Linked DNA regions of Homo sapiens: all the other regions are linked to region 3. The links are contacts of gene promoters, found by promoter capture Hi-C in blood cells and fetal thymus (Javierre and others, 2016). All regions are on one chromosome and are shown on one strand. The core of a region is centred on a gene start or on the middle of the fragment in contact, and the rest is flanking DNA. Distances in the headings are between cores, read along the strand shown.

Evidence for each region. The method cuts DNA at HindIII sites, captures the fragments that hold promoters and counts their contacts. A CHiCAGO score of 5 or more calls a contact.
Region 1: a fragment that was not itself captured here is called in contact with the fragment with the promoter of PDE6H in region 3 in 1 of 17 cell types (M1 macrophages); the score reaches 5.2 in M1 macrophages.
Region 2: a fragment that was not itself captured here is called in contact with the fragment with the promoter of PDE6H in region 3 in 1 of 17 cell types (M0 macrophages); the score reaches 5.2 in M0 macrophages.
Region 4: a fragment that was not itself captured here is called in contact with the fragment with the promoter of PDE6H in region 3 in 1 of 17 cell types (M1 macrophages); the score reaches 5.1 in M1 macrophages.
Region 5: a contact is called between a fragment that was not itself captured here and the fragment with the promoter of PDE6H in region 3, in 2 of 17 cell types (neutrophils and total CD8 T cells). The highest score is 11.9, in neutrophils.
Region 6: the fragment with the promoter of DERA here is called in contact with the fragment with the promoter of PDE6H in region 3 in 6 of 17 cell types (naive CD8 T cells, total CD8 T cells, activated CD4 T cells and 3 more); the score reaches 7.2 in naive CD8 T cells.
Region 7: a contact is called between a fragment that was not itself captured here and the fragment with the promoter of PDE6H in region 3, in 1 of 17 cell types (neutrophils). The highest score is 6.2, in neutrophils.

Annotation. Positions count from the first base shown.
Region 1 is chr12:15,543,701-15,546,505 of GRCh38, reverse strand. The region is part of intron 12 of PTPRO (protein tyrosine phosphatase receptor type O); the gene reads right to left. The region is part of intron 1 of LOC105369672 (a long non-coding RNA gene); the gene reads left to right. Among named protein-coding and RNA genes, the nearest start is that of PTPRO, 220 kb to the right of the region's middle. The HindIII fragment of the contact is 8,324 bases long and covers 1-2,805 here.
Region 2 is chr12:15,583,099-15,586,035 of GRCh38, reverse strand. The region is part of intron 23 of PTPRO (protein tyrosine phosphatase receptor type O); the gene reads right to left. Among named protein-coding and RNA genes, the nearest start is that of EPS8, 200 kb to the left of the region's middle. The HindIII fragment of the contact is 2,025 bases long and covers 363-2,387 here.
Region 3 is chr12:14,971,656-14,974,355 of GRCh38, reverse strand. PDE6H (phosphodiesterase 6H) reads right to left here and starts at 1,314. Exons shown (of 4, transcript NM_006205.3): 1 at 1,270-1,314. The HindIII fragment of the contact is 3,244 bases long and covers 1-2,700 here.
Region 4 is chr12:15,705,154-15,708,066 of GRCh38, reverse strand. The region is part of intron 1 of EPS8 (EGFR pathway substrate 8, signaling adaptor); the gene reads left to right. Among named protein-coding and RNA genes, the nearest start is that of EPS8, 83 kb to the left of the region's middle. The HindIII fragment of the contact is 979 bases long and covers 1,160-2,138 here.
Region 5 is chr12:14,233,044-14,235,743 of GRCh38, reverse strand. No RefSeq gene overlaps it. Among named protein-coding and RNA genes, the nearest start is that of ATF7IP, 130 kb to the left of the region's middle. The HindIII fragment of the contact is 7,894 bases long and covers 1-2,700 here.
Region 6 is chr12:15,909,951-15,912,650 of GRCh38, reverse strand. It overlaps DERA (deoxyribose-phosphate aldolase), which reads right to left and starts at 1,319. Exons shown (of 9, transcript NM_015954.4): 1 at 1,237-1,319. The coding sequence starts at 1,267. RefSeq lists enhancers at 141-884, 885-1,629 and silencers at 1,032-1,381, 1,402-1,461. The HindIII fragment of the contact is 2,953 bases long and covers 1,035-2,700 here.
Region 7 is chr12:14,269,390-14,272,164 of GRCh38, reverse strand. No RefSeq gene overlaps it. Among named protein-coding and RNA genes, the nearest start is that of ATF7IP, 95 kb to the left of the region's middle. The HindIII fragment of the contact is 5,994 bases long and covers 1-2,775 here.

The sequences.
Region 1 (2,805 bases), core at 101-2,600, 570 kb before region 3:
AATAAGCAGGTGAAGCATCCCCCAATTCAAATATAGGTAGGTAAGAGCACCATAAAGACTTTATATTGCCTTTGAAATATGTCCTTTCATAAAGATAGCTATCTAACTTGGAAGGCAGAATACTTTGCCTTTTCCCCCTTCCATTTTTTTACTTCTCTTTTCAGAACACTTCTGTTTTCTACTTCAGTTTCATCATAGTCATAATCTATTAATAGTTTCTGTGTCATTTATACTGAAGTTAGCATTGCCCTGATAATACAGAACTTCCTGGATGAGAAACAAAAATCTGCACTTAATAAAGGTGGAGAAAAATGAAATTTGGTGTGCTTCCTTCTAATGATGAGATGCAGTTTGGTATTTAGCCAACAACCTGTCTTCCTTTCTCTGGAAACTATCTGGAACAATTCAGACAGAAAAATGGCTGCTTGAAAATTTAGTCAAAATTTAAAAAGATAAAGCTAAACAGATAGTATCATTTTTTTTTTTTTTTGAGGCGGGGGTCTCACTCTGTCACCCAGGCTGGAGTGCAGTAGTGCGAACACAGCTCACTGAAGCCTCATCTTCCCTGGCTCAAGTGATCCTCCTGCCTCGACTCCCAAGTAACTGGGACTACCTGGCTTATTTTTGCATTTTTTGCAGAGATGGAGTTTTGCCATGTTGCTCAAGTTGGTCTCAAACTCCTGGGCTCCAGCAATCCACCCACTTTGGCCTCCCAAAGTATTGGGATTACAGGTGTGAGCCACCGTGCCTGGCTGATAATATAATTTTTTAAGAAAAGAATTGATAGGAGGGGATTGGAAGATTAATAAAACATTAGATAAATTTTTTATCTTAGACATTTTATCTTAATAATAAATAAATCCATTCGTAAAGGAAGCTGTGTTGTCTGTCCTTTTCATACTTATTTCTAGTAATTGAGTCACTGGCATTGCTCTCTTGAGACCAAAAAACCCTGCCTGTTCCTCAATTCTAATAGTCATCTGCTGTCTCATTCTCCATTCCTGAATGTCTCCTGGTCTTCTGCTTGTGACCCTGTCTTTTGGATGTTGTCTTTCCCTCTAGGTCCCCCAGTATGCAGAGTGCTGTGCCTGAACTCAAGGTTTTAAGCTGGGGTCCCTGTTACCTGCTCTCAGACCCCCTGACATTGCTTATTTGGACATATTGTACCTTGCTGCTAGGTTCACATAACAGCATCCTCCATCCACCTATATGCGCCTGTCAGACGACTACCCACTGTTGTAGGTTTCTTCCTGCTTGTTACTTGGATTTTTCATTTTCTGCCCCACTCTCCTAAGTCTGTTCTCCAGCTCCTGTCCTTTAGAGGTGCTTGAAAAAGTCCTGTCAGCCATTTCACTGCTTTGACAGGTACACATCTTTGTGTGGAAAGATTTGAACCTTGTTTCTAGAATATCATCATTGTGACTCTGCCCAGGACCAAGAAGTATGTCAAAATCATTCTTGCCATGATTTATCACAGATCTCCTAAACTTGTGTCCAACTAAAAAGAAGCATGTTTCTTTCCTGCAGCAACTTGACAAGGTTAGGCAGAAGAGTTGAAGGAGGAAAGAGATGAGTTCTTCTTAGGCAAGCAAAATTCACAATAGGTGTCAGGAGCCCTTTTTCACTTGCAATGAATTGTCCAGTCCTCCAGGCATTGTATTGTCCCACTTCTGCTCTGAGGAAGACTGCTAATGAAACACAGAGGTCAATTTCCACTTCTCACTTCCTTTATAACTGCCTTTGCTAATAGGATTATGTCCTTTAGGGATTCTGACTCATGTGGAACTTGAATCTATAGAACCAAGTGTGAAGTTGTTTGGGGGCATAGATGAATGATTAGTTAGGCTGAGCCTAGGCTTTTCTTTTTTAAAAATGCACACTACAGAATTGTTCCTCAGTCACAATTCTGAGGCTCTTCCCTTATTTCTCAGTCCCAGAGAGCATATCTTTTAAAAACTCGTTACCTTTTCCTTTAATCTTTTTTTTTTTTTTTTTTTTTGAGATGGAGTCTCGCTCTGTCACCAGGCTGGAGTGCAGTGGTGGTGCAATCTCGGCTCACTGCAACCTCTGCCTCCCGGGTTCAAAAAATTCTCCTGCCTCAGCCTCCTGAGTAGCTGAGACTACAGGCGCATGCCACCATGCCCAGCTAATTTTTTTGTATTTTTAGTAGAGACAGGGTTTCACCATGTTGGCCAGGATGGTCTCGATCTCCTGACCTTGTGATCTGCCTGCCTCTGCCTCCCAAAGTGCTGGGAGCTGGGATTATAGGCATGAGCCACCACCCCCGGCCTCCTTTAATCTATTTTTAAATTATATTGCATGTCTAGACTTTTGTGATCACATTCATTGATCATCACAAACTTGCTGTGCCTCTTTTTCCCTGGCTCTAATCAATTCTTTCTTCATTTTGTCAACAACGGATTAAAATCACCTTAAAATGCCATTTCACTCATGTTAAATCCTATCTGTGCATTGTCTGTGGTATCACATCCAAACATACCATGTCTTTAAGATCCTGCTTAAACTGGCTGCATGCTATCCAACCAGCTTCACCACCATTCCTGACACACAGATGTGTTGCCTCCTGGGAAAGACAGTCTTCTCACTGAACTTCAGGGCAGTGCTCTATGTCAGCCCATGTTTGCCTTCAATCAGTATGCTCTTTATTCTGCTCATTCGAAGGTCAAGAAAAAGTCTTACCTCCTCCTTGAAGTCTCATTTGGTGACTCTTTCTCTTAATGATTTATCCCTTCTCTGACATTCTACTGCCTTTAATTATTTCCTATATAATCTATGTGAGTGAAG
Region 2 (2,937 bases), core at 126-2,625, 610 kb before region 3:
TCATTACCATCACTCACCGTCATCCAGCTCCGTGCAATTGTATGGTTGATTCTGGGAGTCCCCAGTAAGTGAGTATAACTTGTATATTTTCCTATTCCTATTAACCCATACATCAAATATATTGTTGTTCTCTCTGAACTGAGTACATATTAACTAGAATGTATATCTTTCCAGATCAACTCTTTTTAGTCCCAACTAACTTGTAAGAGTTACATATTCTCCACTTGTTATCAGCCATCAGAAATATCCCAAACCCAGGCTTCATAAAGGTCTGATTCATCCCTCAGTTCTCAAACTTGTGAAGAGCCTAGAATTCACTCAGAGGCTGGAATACTATATCATAACTGGGAAGGAGGGAAGCTTGGCCTCGCTGTCAGTTTTGAGCTAAAATTTAAGTTCAGGTATTGAAAGAGAAATGAATTTCAAAGAGTCAGTGGTCTTGGACAGAAAATAAACGTATAAAGACAATTCATAAATAAAATGTATAAATAAATATGTAAGATTTGTTTAAATATACATAAGTTATCACCTCCCCTACACCCATTGTACCCTTGGCACCTAATATATCCCCAGCAGCATGCAGTGCCTCCCCTACTATGTTCAAGGGCTCTGGCTTAGACACACAGAACATGAAGTCTACAAAGACGCTGGCTACCCTCACTGCTCTCTTCAGGAAGTATGTTGAGAAACTATCTTGGGCATAAAGAATTGTGCAGAATAATTTACTTATTCAACATCATGAGGATTTAAGAATACTCAGCCACCAGATAACTTTGGTTGCCAGGAAAGTTCAGGAAAATGCTTGCCCTGTTTAAATGCTGATCATAATTTGTATAACATGTGTACATTGTAGCCAATATATATATTCCAGTACGGTTGAAGTGAAAATGTATTCAGTTAAAAAGTGCAAGGTGATTTAAAATCAGGAAATCATTAAATTGTAGTTAGTTTCTCCGCAGCTACACGGCAGGGGTCCTGGAACTGGGGTCAGCCCTGTGAGCTGAATAGCAGGGCACAAAGTCCCTGGCAACAAACACGTTTTTGATGATCTTTAGTCTCCAGCTCTCACTCAGTTGATGCCAAATTTCAAGTAGTAGAAAGTGACAAGTTGTGTGTTATGGTCATTTCTCTCCTTTCTTGTTAAAGGAGAAAACTCTTCTGGTTTTATCTTACTTAGCTATTCCTAAATTTCTCTTACCTTGAGTTCCTTATTTATGTAATTTTATCTTTTTATAATTGGAAAGTTTCCACATATCAATATGGAATGGATAAAGAAGGGTATAAACAAAAAATGAAACAAATTGAAAAATATATTAATTAGCATAGCACAATGTTCTTTGGGCAACTTAGCCTTCATTGTAGCTTAACATTTAGATTCATTATGCTTATGGCCAAAAGGGGGCACTCTGGTACCAGACGCTTGTAACAAGTAAATTCCTTACAAACAAACACTACTGTTCAATGTTTTATTCCTATTTTTCAAGTCCTTCACATGATTGTCATTGAAAGATAGGTCATCACTTAAGACCAAGGACAAGAAGCATAGTACTGACCAAGCAATAATCTATGTGACTCTTCTTTGTCAACAGAATAGGCAATGGAACAGACCCTATTTTGTGCTCTGAAATTTTTTCTACTACGTGCAAACCTAGGGACAGATTTGTACTGTATTTGGTTATCAGTTTGCACTGGCTTTTCAATTGAAATATCTAAGAACAAAAAACAGAGTTCAAATGGCATTTGGATTGACAAATATTTTCTCTGACGGAAAGTCTATTGATGCTTTACAAGTGCCTTATTATTTTTGAAATAACTCATTCATTCACTGATTTATTCATTCCACAGGGATACAGCACTTGCTTCTGAAACTCACAGTATACTGGGGAGGCAGACACAAGAAGCGAGAATTGTAACTATCTATGGTGTGCTGTGATAAAGCAGCTTACTTAAGACTCTGCCCCAGAGAAGGAATGGGCTAACGGTGTCCAAGCCCAGAGAAGACGCCACAAAGGGGGTGACACTTAAGCTGAAACTCTGCATTTGAGTAAAAACGTGCTTAACAAGGAAGCAATGTGAATTTTAAATGACCGAAACAACACGAAACACAGCCTGTTAGAGTCATACGGGGATTTGCCTGAATTCTCCTGGTCATAAAAGACATTGTTAACTGCCAGTTAACAAGTGGCAATTAACAATGGCTAAGAAGTGATTTATCTCCTGTAGAGATCAATCAGTAGGTAGTATCAAGTTCTAACGTTGTATTGATACGGGCAATCTTTGTTTCCATTGCCTATTTTAAGGGTCAGCAAACATTTTCTGCAAAGAGACAGTTAGTAAATATTTTAGTTTTTGCAGATCATATAGTTTTGGTTGCAGCTACTCAAGCTTGATGTAGCACAAAAGCAGTCATAGACAATTCGTCAACAATGCAGGCTGTGTTCTAATAAAATGTTATATATGGACATTGAAATTTGAATTTCACATAATTTACATATAGCATTTCACATAAAATACTATTTTTCTTGTTGATTTTTTTTGTGTGTGTGTGTGTGTGTGGAGATAGAGTCTTGCTCTTGTTGCCCAGGCTGAAGTGTAGTGGCACAATCTTGGCTCACTGCAACCTCCACCTACGGGGCTCAAGTGATTCCCCCACCTCAGCCTCTTGAGTAGCTGGGACTACAGGTGTGTACCACTACACCAGCTAATTTTTGAATTTTTAGTCAGATGGGATCTCCCTGTGTTGCTCAGGCAATCTTGAAATCCTGGGCTTAAGTGATCTGCTCGCCTCAGCCTCTCAAAGTGCTGGGATTACAGGCATGAACCACCATACTCAGTTGTCTTTTTTCAACCATTAAAAAATGTAAAAACCATTCTTAGCTCATGGGCTTTATCCAAAAGGCAGTGGGTAAATTTGGTCCACAGGCTACAGTTTGCTAT
Region 3 (2,700 bases), core at 65-2,564:
CTCTGCAAAACCTTTAGGAAGGGTAGAACACCTCTGACCTTTTCCTGCATTGGAAGCCAGTCCTGTTGTCCATAAACATCACCAAAGGCTAACCTCATGCTGACCACACCTTTCTAGAAATTCTAAGGGCATCTGGAGCTGAGTAACCTTAAATGTATTATCAGACTTGATTTTAGCTGAAAGAAGTTTCATATTTTTTCCTCCAAAAGCATTAGGCAATTTATTCTTTTGTGAGCCAGAACATTTTCCTGTATTTAAAGCAATGTTAGCCCTTCCCCTTTTGAAGATTACAAACTGTTTTTCTGCAGAAATAAGTGGATGCAGCAAAGTAATATTTCAAGGCATACTTTTTTAGGGGACTGGGATTAGGGTCAACTTAACAAAGTTAAAGATTTGTATAAAGCAAAAAATCATCTTCTGTTTCTTTATACAGCAAAGCCCAGCTCTATATAGTGACAGAGGATGATCCTCTGAAAAGCAGTTTTAGGAGGTTCCTGAGACAGCTCTCTGATGCTGCTGTTATCACCTTACACTTCCAGTTCTCTTTTTCTCAGCAAAGCTATAGACAGGTAGACCAGTCCATTGTTGGTGGACAAAGAAAGAGGCAGGAAGGAGCTGGGAAGGGAAGTACTGCTGGGGTTGAGCCCATAAATATCACCCAGGGTCCTGCTGAGGCAGAGAAAATCAATAATTTGAAAAGCAAAGCAAGACCCAAACCAAAGCCATAAAAAAAAAATTACCAAAATTCCAGCCAGCACCCTGCTTCAGAATGGAACAAACACTTGACCTCAAAGGGAGAAGGCTCAGCCACCTGCCCTGCCCTGTGGTCATTCTCATGCTCTCAGCTCCCCTTCTCCTTTTCCTCACACTCACACCATCCTGGGCCAAGTTTGCAGGCACATCCTGGGAGTAAAGAACTGTTTTCTCTGTGGTTATTTAGTGCCACAGATTCCTCCTTCTTCAGAAAACTGTTTACTATGAAGCTGCAAACAGGGAGGTCACTATTGGGCTCCTTCTAAATGAATTCAGTAATCAAGTTTTGCAGTGACCTTGTAATAATCAAGTTTCACTTATTTGCTTGTCCCATGGCATAACAAGAAGGTCTGCATGTATCTCCTTCATGTTCTTTCCCATTTTCATCCCCAGCCACAGCCCAGGCCCACAGGTCCAACATGTTTTCTTCTGCAATTTTTCTTTTGGAACCTGATCAACCCCCCAAAGCCCTTCAATTATCCTGCTCAAATTCACCAGAAGTTCAGAAGTACTCACGGAGCTGAATGTTGTTCCTATCAGCTGCCCAGCTGCCTTCTTTGCAAAAGACAAAAGGATCTTTGCATCCTGACTTATCTCTCTGTAATACCCTCATGCTGCCTAATCTCACCGTCATAAGCTCAGAACAGCAACCCAGGTGCAAAGAAGTTAGGAGAACATGGGTTGATGCTGGGACAGGCTTAGGAGTTTTCCAATAATTAGAGGCCCTTTCAAAACTGACTTGGGTTCATTCCAGTCAATAAATAGGTATTGTATTCACAAAAACACAAAAAGTGTTGATATCCAAGGGTAAATTTCAGTTTGTGATTCAATATCTTCTGTCTTTTTTTTATTCTTACCTTTAGATTTCAATACCCCCATTTCTTCCCTTTCTCTGACAAACACACACCTATGTGCGCAATCACACACACACATATACACAGTGACATAATTCTTATGGGGCTCTAGATAACTGGAGAGAAGAGAGGGAGCCACAGTGCCTCCTGCTATACAGGGACATTGAACATGCGGGCAGTGACATTGGGAAACACACAGTATGTCTCCCTAACTGGTATTGTGCGAATTTCCTCAGAGAGATGGAACCTCAGAGTCAAAACTGATATCTGACACAGAAAGGGCCCAAATGACAGCTAGGAATTGTTAACTGAGGACACTTATTTGAGAATCGATTGCTGGATCTTCCGTACCTAAATGTTTCAGGGTGTAGGGTCTAGGGTACAATCCAATTTACTGAGACTCCTTGACTCAGTCTTCCTATTTTATTGATCCACTAGTATTAATTATTAATAGATTAATACTTTTTGTATTTTAAATAGATCTCAACCCATATGGTAGTTATCAGTAAGCTCTTTTGATAAATTTATCATAGAAAGATTAAGTGACCTATTCAAGACTGCAAATAAAATTAATAGTGGAGCCAGGAACAGGGCCCAAATCTGGAAGTACCTTGCATATTCAATTGTCTTTGTGCTGCACTACATCAAAGCAGACAGAGACCAAGATGTCTGTTTGCTGGTCACTTCCATGCCTTGCCAGTGAATTTCAATGTTCTTTCCCCAGTTGTTACCTATTAGAAAATTACACTCCATAACATTACAGAGAAAGAAGGTCAATTTATCCTTTCTAGACAGGGAGAGGTTCTTAACCTGCAGCCCTAAGCAGATTACATGAGCAACTAGACAGCTTGAGAGTCATTCATATGCTCTCCACTGGTCTTTACCAAAATTCCTCTGAGTTTTGAAAGCAATGATTACCTTGCAAAGCCAGGAAAGTGTTTGGTCTCTGGATGAGTCCCTCTGCTCCCTCCTCTGTATCTCCATTACCATTCACATCTTCCTTTACTATTACATACCAGGCACGTTAATGTTCAGATGCTTATCTGTCAAACTTTTACATATTCTCCATTTTCTTGATGAAAGAATACAAATT
Region 4 (2,913 bases), core at 400-2,899, 730 kb before region 3:
CGATCCCTATGATAGATGAGGAAACAACGCTACTCAGGGTAAGAATGCACAGATCATCATAGGCAGAGCAATAACAGGAACTCATTCTCATACCTAAATCAGAATTTTTTTCCTGGGGCTTATACATAAAAGGGGAAGAAAACAATTAGAGAATTAGAGATAGGGAGGTGAACTGAACTACAAAAAGAGGATGAAATGATTGTGTTGGAAGTTGGGGAACAAAAGAAGGTGAGTTATAATAGTACTTCAGAATTGTAAGGAGAGAGTCTAATGAAAAATGAACACTAGGGGACTTGTAACTCTGTGGTACATAAAGCCTAATCAAATTCTTACAAAGGAATTAAAACCACCAACTTCATTACAAGATTGTGGTAAGAGAAATCTGATCATGAGCATAAATCACTAGTAGTAATACGCTCAGAAATCAGAGGGAAGAGCAAGGCGATACCAGAGGAAGACTTCGGAAGGATTTATTTGTATTTGTTTTGTAGCATGTGATTTTTTTTTTTTTTAAGGTAGTGAGTTACCTTACAGGCCCTTACAGATAAGCAAGTACTTGATTAGTGTTTGTTATACTGAAAGCTTAATAAATAGTAAGGAGAGTAGTTGTTCAGTTGGGTATTGATTAAGGTGAAGTAATAGGAAAAGTAAGGGTAGAATCGATGAGTAATGATGAACTCAAAGCAGAGGGTCAGCAAACTCTAGCCATTGGGCTGTTTTCTTTCTACAAGCTGAGAATGCTTTTTACATTTTTGGTAGGTTATTAAAAACAAAAATGAAGAATATTGACAGAGACTGTATGTGGCCCACAAAGCCTAAAATATTTATAACCTGGCTCTTTACCGAAAGTTTGTCAACCCCTGACCTGAAATACATACCATGAAGAAAAAAGTTAGACTTGTTCCCTTTTAGGAAATTGGATTAGGTACTGTAAAGTGTAATATTTCATGGGGCTACATTTTCAAACATGTGCCTTTTTCCCACATGGAGGAAAGAACTGTCATGTATTTAGCCTGCTCTTTTGCTATAGGGGTTTTGCATACTTCGATTGTTCTTAACCTTGAGAGATACTATAACCACTTTACAAATGAAGAAACTAGGCTCATAGAGGCTAAGTAAGCCTAAAGTTTTACATTTAATAAGGACTGAAATGTAAGCTTGTCTGGCTTGCTAACTAGATATCAAATATGGGCATTTGTATAAATTTAGTTAGTATGTAAAATAGAAAAAAAACTTGTACACATAGACAATAGAGTAGGTTGGAGAATTGTGTCATTTTATTACAAAATTTGCCCAAGGAAGAATATCTTTGGATAAGTTGTAAAAAAAAACATAAAATATAAAGAACAGAAAATTCTAGTCTCATATTAAAAATGTAATATTCACCTAAAAGAAAGATGAGATTCAAGATGTTTTTGAAAGAAAATGCAAAATACAAAAGTGTGTTTTGCTTCAATAGAAAGTATACCAGCTAGTACTTTATTTTTGAAATGCAGATATTAAGCAAATATTGGCCCAAATGTCTAACAGTAAAGATTTATGAAGAGAATTTCAGAGTGCTGTGAAAACATGTAATGTAGAAATCTAGGATAGATTGGGAGTCAGGGAATGGTTTCCCAAGAAGGGGCCATTTAAGCTGAGATACAAGATTTAGATAGGCAAAGATATAAAAGATAATTATTCTAGACAAGTGTGATAGGCCTCGAGGAAGGAAGAACTTGGCATTGTCAATGCTGCAGTGCTTCCCGCCTTGCCTTTTGAATCCCAGGTTCCACGCAGGAAAAGGCAAGGCCAGGCTCCTCCCCTCTGCAAAGGTGCAAACTTGCTCAGGCTCCACCCCAGTGCACAGGCCGGCAGGAGCTTTGCCAGGGATCCCCTCCCACTTAGCTGTCTCAATGGGAGGGACCATTTTACAAGATGTTTACCATACTGGTTTGCAGAATTAGAGAGAGTAACCTTAGGTGAGGAGAAGACTGGGATTTGGAGACAGAAGGAAAGAAAATAGATTCAGGGTCATTCTTGAATGTTAGCCTTCTTTGAGTTAAAAAAAAAATAGCTGATAGGTGGTAGCAGCAACACATGTGCCTCTGATTGTACAAGAATTTAATAATGATACTTGTGTATGTTTTACATAAGCTTAAACTTTAGTGAACTTTAGTTAATGATATCAAACATTGAGGGTTTTAATGTCTTTCTACTGGATATCATAAGTCTGTTTTTCCTTACGAAAAGGGTAATATTGGCTAGCCGTTGAGGTTAGTGTTTGCTAAGAGTTGGAAGTTTTGAACAGTGAGGAAAACAATGTCACTGGGCTCATTTCCAAGAGGGTATTCTAACTATTGCAGTCAACAACTGATTTGCCATAAAATGTCAATAACTTTTTAAAAGGAAGGTACATTCATGTGTTTATTTTGCTTTTTAAATGAGTGTTAAGTACTTTAATTAGCATCATTTTATAATTATTGATATTTTGTATGGGATTTAATAATGGATTAGTTAATTATGAAAACAAGATCTAAATGTTTTCTTCTCCAATTGCCGTTAAAATTTGTTGAAATCACCTTATTGAACAGATTTTTTTTAAACCCCTTGGAGTACTAGTGGGTGTTATTTTGTTGAATGAATGTTTTACCCAAACTTATATGCATATTAGATTGTTTAAAAGCTCAATTAAAAAGTGAAAAATAGACACTGAAAATTTTTTGAGTGATTTCACATGTGTTCATGAAACAATATATCTATTACAAATCATTGAATATTTTAAAAGTAATGTCATGTATTCATTTTCTTATTTTATCTCCTCAGTAGACTGAGATCAGTGTGTAGGGGTGAAGCAAGGAGTCCTACTCTGTTTGACTAAGGTAAAAATTAAGAATCAGTGAGAAATGGAATTTGCAAAAGTGCCTGCCAGAT
Region 5 (2,700 bases), core at 148-2,647, 740 kb after region 3:
GAAGAGCCACATAAAAAGAAGAGACCTTGTGTCAGGCAGAACTGGAAATGTAAAGTGAAAAGGTGAGAGGGTGTACTGAAAGAGGAGACCTGTGCCCAGAATCCCAGCAAGGGCAGCAGCCATTAGAGGTTGTAATGGGAATTGATGGTGCAACTGCATGGAGGCAGAGGTTCGGTTCTCATGGTGTATGAGAAAGCACATAGTGTCTACGAGTAACCTTTCACTGTTATTCATGGGGCTGGGTATAAGCAAGCAAGAGGAGGGGCTAGGAGGAGAGTCAGATGAGCAGGGGGAGGGTAGCCAAGGCTGGAGTGAGATGCAGGGTAGGTGTCTTCCTAAACAATAGTGACTGCCAATGTTTTTTAGTTTGTCAGTAATGATAGAGGCTTATCAGTAATGTGAAGTTGGAATGCTCCCATCTGTTTGGTAATGTGTGTGGCTGGGTTCTGGAGATAAAGAGTAAAGGAACATTTGGACGGTGGAAGGTTGTCTAAAGGGATTCCAGTAGGCTGTTGTCAGGAGATGCATAAAGGAATGGCAATAGGGATAGTTGTTTGTGTGGTTAGGGGTCCAAATATGGGGGCAAGGGTGGAATTGACATAAGGAGAAAGGTGCCATAAGTAGATGTTGAGAAGTGTGGCAGCTCGTTGGTGCGAAATGTCTGGGGAGTTCTCACCTAATCTGTCTAGAAAGTAAAGAAGTTCCTCAGATGGGTAAAGATGAGGGCTATTAAAGGAAGGTTGGAGGTGCAGGGAGACAGGAGAGGTAGCCCAGTTGGCCTGTAGAGCGGGGATGGCTGTATAAGAGCAGGAAGAAAGGGAAATGCATAGCCAACAATTCTTTGCTAGAGAAGGATTGGAGGCAGTGAGGAGAGAGTGGGTGAGATTGATAGTATGCTGGAGGTAACTAGGGAGAGGTAGAGAGTGACTGGAGAATGGGGGCAAGGATAAGAGTGAGTAGAAAAGTAAAAAAAGGACTTCATCAGGATAGAATTGGAGTGTACCTTGCCACTGAAGATCTTCTATCCACTCCAAGAGAGAGTTAAGGGTGGTGGTTTGAGGTAAAACCAGGAGATATCAGTTATGATGGTTTGGAGGAAAAGTGTAAACTGGCAGTGTAAACAAGGGCAGGGCATTTGCGAGTAGTTGAGAATGGTGAATAGGAGTATGATTAGACAGAAGATAGTAGGAATGACAAGTTTTTGGGGTGCAGTCCAAGTAGTGGGGGTGATTGCGTAAAGCCCTGTTGTAAAAAGCAGGGTAAGGACCAATAGACCTAATAGAATGAAGGGATGTATTAGGCTCATAAGGGTTATTACTGTTCTTCAGAAATGTGAGTTTAAGGGAAGTAGGGGAGAGTACTTGTGACTTCCAAGAGGAAGAGGAGAGATCAGGCTGGCTGTCCGAGGGACACAGCTTTATTCTGGAATGGTGAACCCAATGGGGAGGGTCCTGCAGGTGGATGGCAATTGGGGTACTATAGATGACTAAGTAGGGTCCGGTCCGTCAAGGTTGTAGAGTTTGAGGGGTCAGATTTGTAACAAGAACTGATCATCCAGCTAGGGTGTCTTCATATAGCTGGGAGTCTGGAGTAGGCAAGAGAAGATTAGCAGCCTGGTGAATTTCCTGTCTAGCCTGCTGGAGGACTGGAAGACAGTCACCTAGAGGGCTGGTGTCTGTCACGAGGTTGGGGCTGAACAAGAAGGTACGTCCATATATTGAATAAGGTGAGAAACAGATGGACGGAAAGAAAGTAAATTATGAAAAAGAGCTTGACTAAAGTAATGGGGGCTGTCTCTGAAGCCTTGCAGCAGTACAGTCCAGGTGGGTTGCTGAGATTGGTGGGTGTCAGGGTCAGCCCATGTGAAAGCAAAAAGAGGTTGGGATGAGGGGTGCAAAGGAATAGTGAAGAAAGCATCTTTGAGGTCAATAATGGAGTAATGAGTTGTGGAGGGAGGTATTGAGGATAGGAGAGTTTATTGGTTTGGCACCACAGGATGGATAGGTAAGACAATTAAGTTAATAAGGCGAAGATCCTGAACCAACCTGTAAGACTCGTCCGGTTTCTGGATGGGTAGGATAGGGGAGTTGTAAGGAGAATCTGTAGGCTTTAAGAGGCCATGTGGTAACAGGCGGGTGATAACAGGCTTTAACCCTTTTAAAGCCTGCTGTGGGATGGGATATTGGCATTGAGTGGGGTAAGGGTGATTAGGTTTTAATGGGATGGTAAAGGGTGCCTGATCGGTCACCAAGGAGGGAGTAGAGGTATCCCATATTTGTGGATTAAGGTAGGGAGACATGAGAGGAGGATGTGAAGGAGGCTTTGAACTGGGGAAAAGGGTGGCAATAAGGTGTGGCTATAGCCCAGGAATAGTCAGGGAAGCAGATAATTTAGTTAAAATGTCTCGACCTAATAAGGGAGCTGGGCAGGTGGGGATAACTAAAAAGGAGTGCATAAAATAATGTCCAAGTTGGCACCAGAGTTGGGAAGTTTTAAGAGGTTTAGAAGCCTGGCCATCAATACCAACAACAGTTATGGAGGCAAGGGAAACAGGCCCTTGAAAAGAAGGTAATGTGGAGTGGATAGCCTCCATATTGATGAAGAAGGGGACGGATTTACCCTCCACTGTACGAGTTACCCAAAGTGTCTGTGATGGTCCAGGAGGCTTCCAAGGTAATCGGCAGTGTCAGTCTTCAGCCG
Region 6 (2,700 bases), core at 70-2,569, 940 kb before region 3:
AGGTGTCCACAATATACCAAACTACTTTACATGTATCCTATTTAATCTCCTAACGGCCTTATAAGGTAACTACCACTAAAATAACCATTTTACAGATGAAGAAACTTAAGCGCAAAGTTATTAATTTGTCCGAAGTCACACAGGTAAGAAGTTAAAGATCCTGGATACACAGATATCCAAGCTATAATACTTAAACGAGACGCTTAAACCTTCTCTTGATCATGGTTTTGCTGTTTGAATTATAAATTTTTCACATGTTAAGAAATCTGAAGAAAAATTCTCTTCTGCCTTGGGATCCTGTTGATCTGTGACCTTATCCCCAACCCTGTGCTCTCTGAAACATGTGCTGTGTCCACTCAGGGTTAAATGGATTAAGGGCGGTGCAAGATGTGCTTTGTTAAACAGATGCTTGAAGGCAGCATGCTCGTTAAGAGTCATCACCACTCCCTAATCTTAAGTACCCAGGGACACAAACACTGCGGAAGGCCGCAGGGTCCTCTGCCTAGGAAAACCAGAGACCTTTGTTCACTTGTTTATCAGCTGACCTTCCCTCCACTACTGTCCTATGACCCTGCCAAATCCCCCTCTGCGAGAAACACCCAAGAATGATCAATAAAAAAAAAAAAAAAAGAAATCTGAACTAAGGTTTCTTGCCAGTATTTGAACAATATAAAAAAAGATGAAAACTGGGAAATAATACAGGTACTTTAACAAATCTTTGTAACTCTAAAATCCCATGAATCTGCAGTGTTACATTTTGAGCACAGACGGCTGACAACTTTTCCACGAGCACGGCCACTTCAAGGTTACGGTTAAAATTATCTACGGAAATACTGCATTAAATTACACAAGTATTCTATTAAAAGGAGGAGAAAGAAGGTTTTTATCTGTTTTTACCTGCTTGGGGGTTGTTTGTTTTGGGTTTTGTTTTTTGGGTTGTTGGGTTTTCCAACCAGCGAGCTAGAGTGAACGAAAAGGCAGGAAGATAATAATCTAACCCTTTCCTACTCCTTCCGCATACAAGAGTAAAAGCTTAGGTGCAAAGACAAGCGGCGCGAACGTGCCGGGTTCGGCCTTTACTTGGGGTGAGGGCTGACCAGACGCCACTGCTTCCCGCCCCAGCGAAAACCCCTCGGGGACCCACAGCCAGGGCACTGGGCGGCAGCAGGCCCCGCGCTAGTCCCGGCGGCGCTGAACGCGAGGGAGAGGGGATGGGGAGCCCCGCGGGCCCCTTACCGAGCTCGGTGCCCCGATTGTGCGCGGACATGGCGCGGGCAGCTCCGGAGCTGCCGGCTGGTAGGCGCCCGCCTCTGCGCCGCGCCCGGCCCTTCCTCCTTCCCGCCAGCTGGAGCGCTCGCCCCGCCCCTGCCCGCTCCCGGGGCGGAGTCGCGGGCCCGGGCTACGAGGTCTGTACCCTAGGAATATTGCTCCGCAAGGAAATCTCGCTGCTCCCCTCCCCCGTCTTCTCCACGAGGTACCGAACCGGAGCGCTAAGTAGCTCCCGGAAATAATGCTACCAACACCCTTTAAAAAATACTGAAGTTGCCAATTGCACGTAATAAAAATATTCCTAGAAACTTTTAACTGTAAGATTATATAACAAGAAGGAAGAAGATCCAAGTGCAGAGCTCTGCAACTTAAGGTCTGAAATGTCAGCAGGGATCCCATATCCTTGTTAGGGAAACCAAGGTGCAATCAAGGGCCCCGGGGCACACTGACTTTTCTAATCTACACATCATGAAAAGAAGCAGCTATGTGGCCTGAAGAAGGCAAGGGCTTAGGAGTCAGAAGACCTGGTTTCTTAGCCAAGCTCGGGCAATAATTAAATGTGTGACCCTGGGCAAATTAACTGCTTTTCCGAGCTTCATTTTTCTCATCTGTAAAAGAAGACCTTGACAATTTCTTGGTTCTTCAAAATACTATGATTCTATAAAGGTAAAATGCTTCAGCCTGATTTCTCTGTGACCAAGAGGTTAAAATCGTCGAGTCACTCCACAATCTCAATATAGTTAACTTATCTGTACTCACGTTTAGAGGCACCTCTGCTATGAAAACAGTACAGTTAGTTATGATTTGTCTACCATGAGCCAGTTATTGTGCTAGGTGCTTTCATACATCATATATAGATGTATGATAGCATTTGAGTCTCTGAACAATCCTGCCAATAATGTATTTTATCTCCATTGCTGTAACTTTAGACATCAAAGTTCTGAATAGAAAGGCATCCTGGTATAGGGGAAATACAGTGAGCTCAAAATGAGCTGAACCCATTAATATACCAGCTCTTCCATTTAATAAATGTAACTTGGCAGTTCTGGAAATAATAGTCTGTCTACTTACCTGTAAAGTGGAGATGATCAAAATATGTTCACCTTGCAAAGCTGTTGAATGTATGCAAGGCACCTAGTACATAACATGGCATACAGTAGATACTTAAAAAATGGAAGCTGTTAATGTTATTGTCAAGTTCACACAGTAATTACTGAGCTGTTTTAAATAGGAATAGTAATATTTGTATACTCCTCTACATTGAGCTTTCAGCCTTGTCCACACACAGCCACTGTTGAATGTTTCGGATGTGTGTAGATCTTACTCATACATACTATAGCACTTTTCTTTTTTATATTAACCTTGAAAAAGAGAAAAGCAGGCCCTGAAAGCCTGGAGCTGGCCTGAAACTCACAACTGGACCATGGTTTT
Region 7 (2,775 bases), core at 142-2,641, 700 kb after region 3:
GACCCTCGGTTGCCCCCATTGGTAACGTAATGGTCTAGGCTTCCCTCACTTCCCTGTCTTACTGCCCCTTTCCCCTGTCAGTGCTTCCTATGATCACCACTCAAACTACTTACATTTAAACCTTTTGCTTAGGGTTGGCTCCTAAAAGAATCTGGCAGAAGACAGCCTAATTATGGGGAAAGCACTCCTGCCCAAAATAATCGGCTAAATTTCTCCATTTTTTCAAGTTTCAAATTCTATCCATTAGGGGTGCATATGGGGGGCCAGGCATGGTGGCTCAAACCTATAATCCCAGTACTTTGGGAGGTTGAGGCAGGTGGATTTCTTGAGCCCAGGAGTTCGAGACCAGTCTAGGTGACATAGTGAGACCTCATCTCTGCAAAAAATACAAAAACTTGCCAGGTGTGGTGGTGCATTCCTGTAGTACCAGCTACTAAGCGGCTGAGGTGGGAAGATCGCTTGAGCCTAGGAGGTCAAGGCTGCAGTGAGCTGTGTTCATGCCACCGCACTCTGGCCTAGGTGACAAAGTGAGACCCTGTTTAAAAAAAAAAAGGGATGCATACGTGGTGTCAGGTGTCAATTTGGGAAATTCAGATACTCCTTGCAGGGTTATGAAGCAACCATCATTTTTTCCACCATATCTTAGGGAAAATGGTTGGTGACATTGCTTTCTTCTTATTACTATTTAATCTCACCCAAAATAATTGGCTAAAATTATTGGCTAAAATAATTGTCTGCTCAAAAGAATCATTAGCCATCATAAAGTAAGTAAATTCTCACTGCCTCATTCTGGGGCAGGCTCATGTCTGAAGGAGTGTGATCTCAAGTGTACATCTGCAATTTGGAATCGAAAGACTGCAATTTGAAGTTGAAATACAAATGGGCAGTGGCTGAACCATAGATAACAACAGAACTCTGACCCATGAAGGGGATCAGAACATGTTGCCCCCAAATACGCTGCTTTAGCATATTGATTATTTTGAACTGAAGGCAATTGAAAAACAGCAAATGGCCTCTTGACCTTCACTTTTCTTTTTTTTTCTTTTTCTTTTTTTTTTTTTTCGAGATGGAGTCTCACTCTGTCTCCCAGGGTGGAGTACAGTGGTGCCATCTCTGCAAGCTCCGCCTCCCAGGTTCACGCCATTCTCCTGCCTCAGCCTCCTGAGTAGCTGGGACTACAGGCACCGGCCACCATGCCTGGCTAATTTTTTGTATTTTTAGTAGAGACACAGTTTCACTGTGTTAGCCAGGATGGCCTCGATCTCCTGACCTCGTGATCTGCCTGCCTTGGCCTCCCAAACTGCTGGGATTACAGGTGTGAGCCACCACACCTGGCCTGACATACATTTCCCATGAGAAAGGTGCTCTCCCATAACCAGAAAGAAAACATTCTTATCAATGGAAATGGAGAATTGACACTGATTGTTTGTCTGCACAAACAAACCTTATTAATATAGCCCTTATCTTCCATTAGTTTTCCTCATATACTTCCTAGGTACTTTCCAAAAACTTACCACCTGTAGAAGCCCAAACCCCTGTCCTTTATCTACCTATGTCTTCACAATTTATTGCCTTTTGTTAAAATGGTATATAAACCTCTCTATCCACATGTTTTGAGGTTTTCACATCTTCTCTGTGAAGCCCTCCATGCCATATAAAAACATTAACACCAAATGAAATTGTATATGTTTTTCCTGTTGTAATATTTGTCAGTTTAATTTGCAGGCCCCAGGTACCTAATAACATAAGAGGGTAAAGTTCTTCCTTCCTTCATTGACAACATGCAGCAACCTATCCAGGAAACTAATCACTTATTTTCAATAGCCAACCAGTGAGACAGTCTGCTGTAAGTCAGATTTGTTGGGAGTCACAGATCTTTAGTGACAGTCTAAGAGGCCAAACAATAACAGTTGTTTCCTGTGACAACAAGCCAATATGGCCAGGACTTGATTAATAACTGACCGCTTTTCTAATTTTTGTCCCTGCTTCCAAATTAGGACCAATCAGAGGAAACCGGATGGGTGCAGTGGCTCATGCCTGTAATCCCAGCACTTTGGGAGGCTGAGGCAGGTGGATCACCTGAGGTCAGGAGTTTGAGACCAGCCTGGCCAATATGGTGAAACCCAGTCTCTACTAAAAAAAAATACAAAAATTAGCTGGGCATGGTGGCGCACGCCTGTAGTCCCAGCTACTCAGGAGGCTGAAGCAGGAGAATCGCCTGAACCCAGGAAGCAGAGGTTGCAGTGAGCCAAGATTGCGCCACTGTACTCCAGCCTGAGGACAGAGTGAGACTCTGTCTCAAAAAAAAAAAAAAAAAAAAAAAAATCAGAGAAAGCCAAATGTGTACCCCTAACCAATCACATAGGAATTCCTGTTTCTAGTTTGCCTGCTTACAGCTTCCTCATGCCAACAGCCTCTAACTGGGGCATAGTTGAAGCCTTTCCTTTTTCCTACAATAAAACTTTCCTACTCCTCTGCCTGCCTTGGAGTGTCTGCCAAAATACAAGTGACAGTGGTTGACTCCCTAGCTATAGCAATCTCTGAATAAATAGAATTTGCTTGTTCTCATTTGGTTTGTCTTAGTTTTTTTCCACATTCTGTCCACCCTTGTAACTTTCTATTTGGGGGACTTGTATTTGATATTATGCCTTATTCTCTCCATCCACTTTGTCCTAAAGTGGATGACATACTATTTTAGAGTTCCAATTGTAAAAATGCCTTTTATCCCTGGATAAGATTGCATTTTGATCCTTTTAATCTCAATGAGCCAGAAGT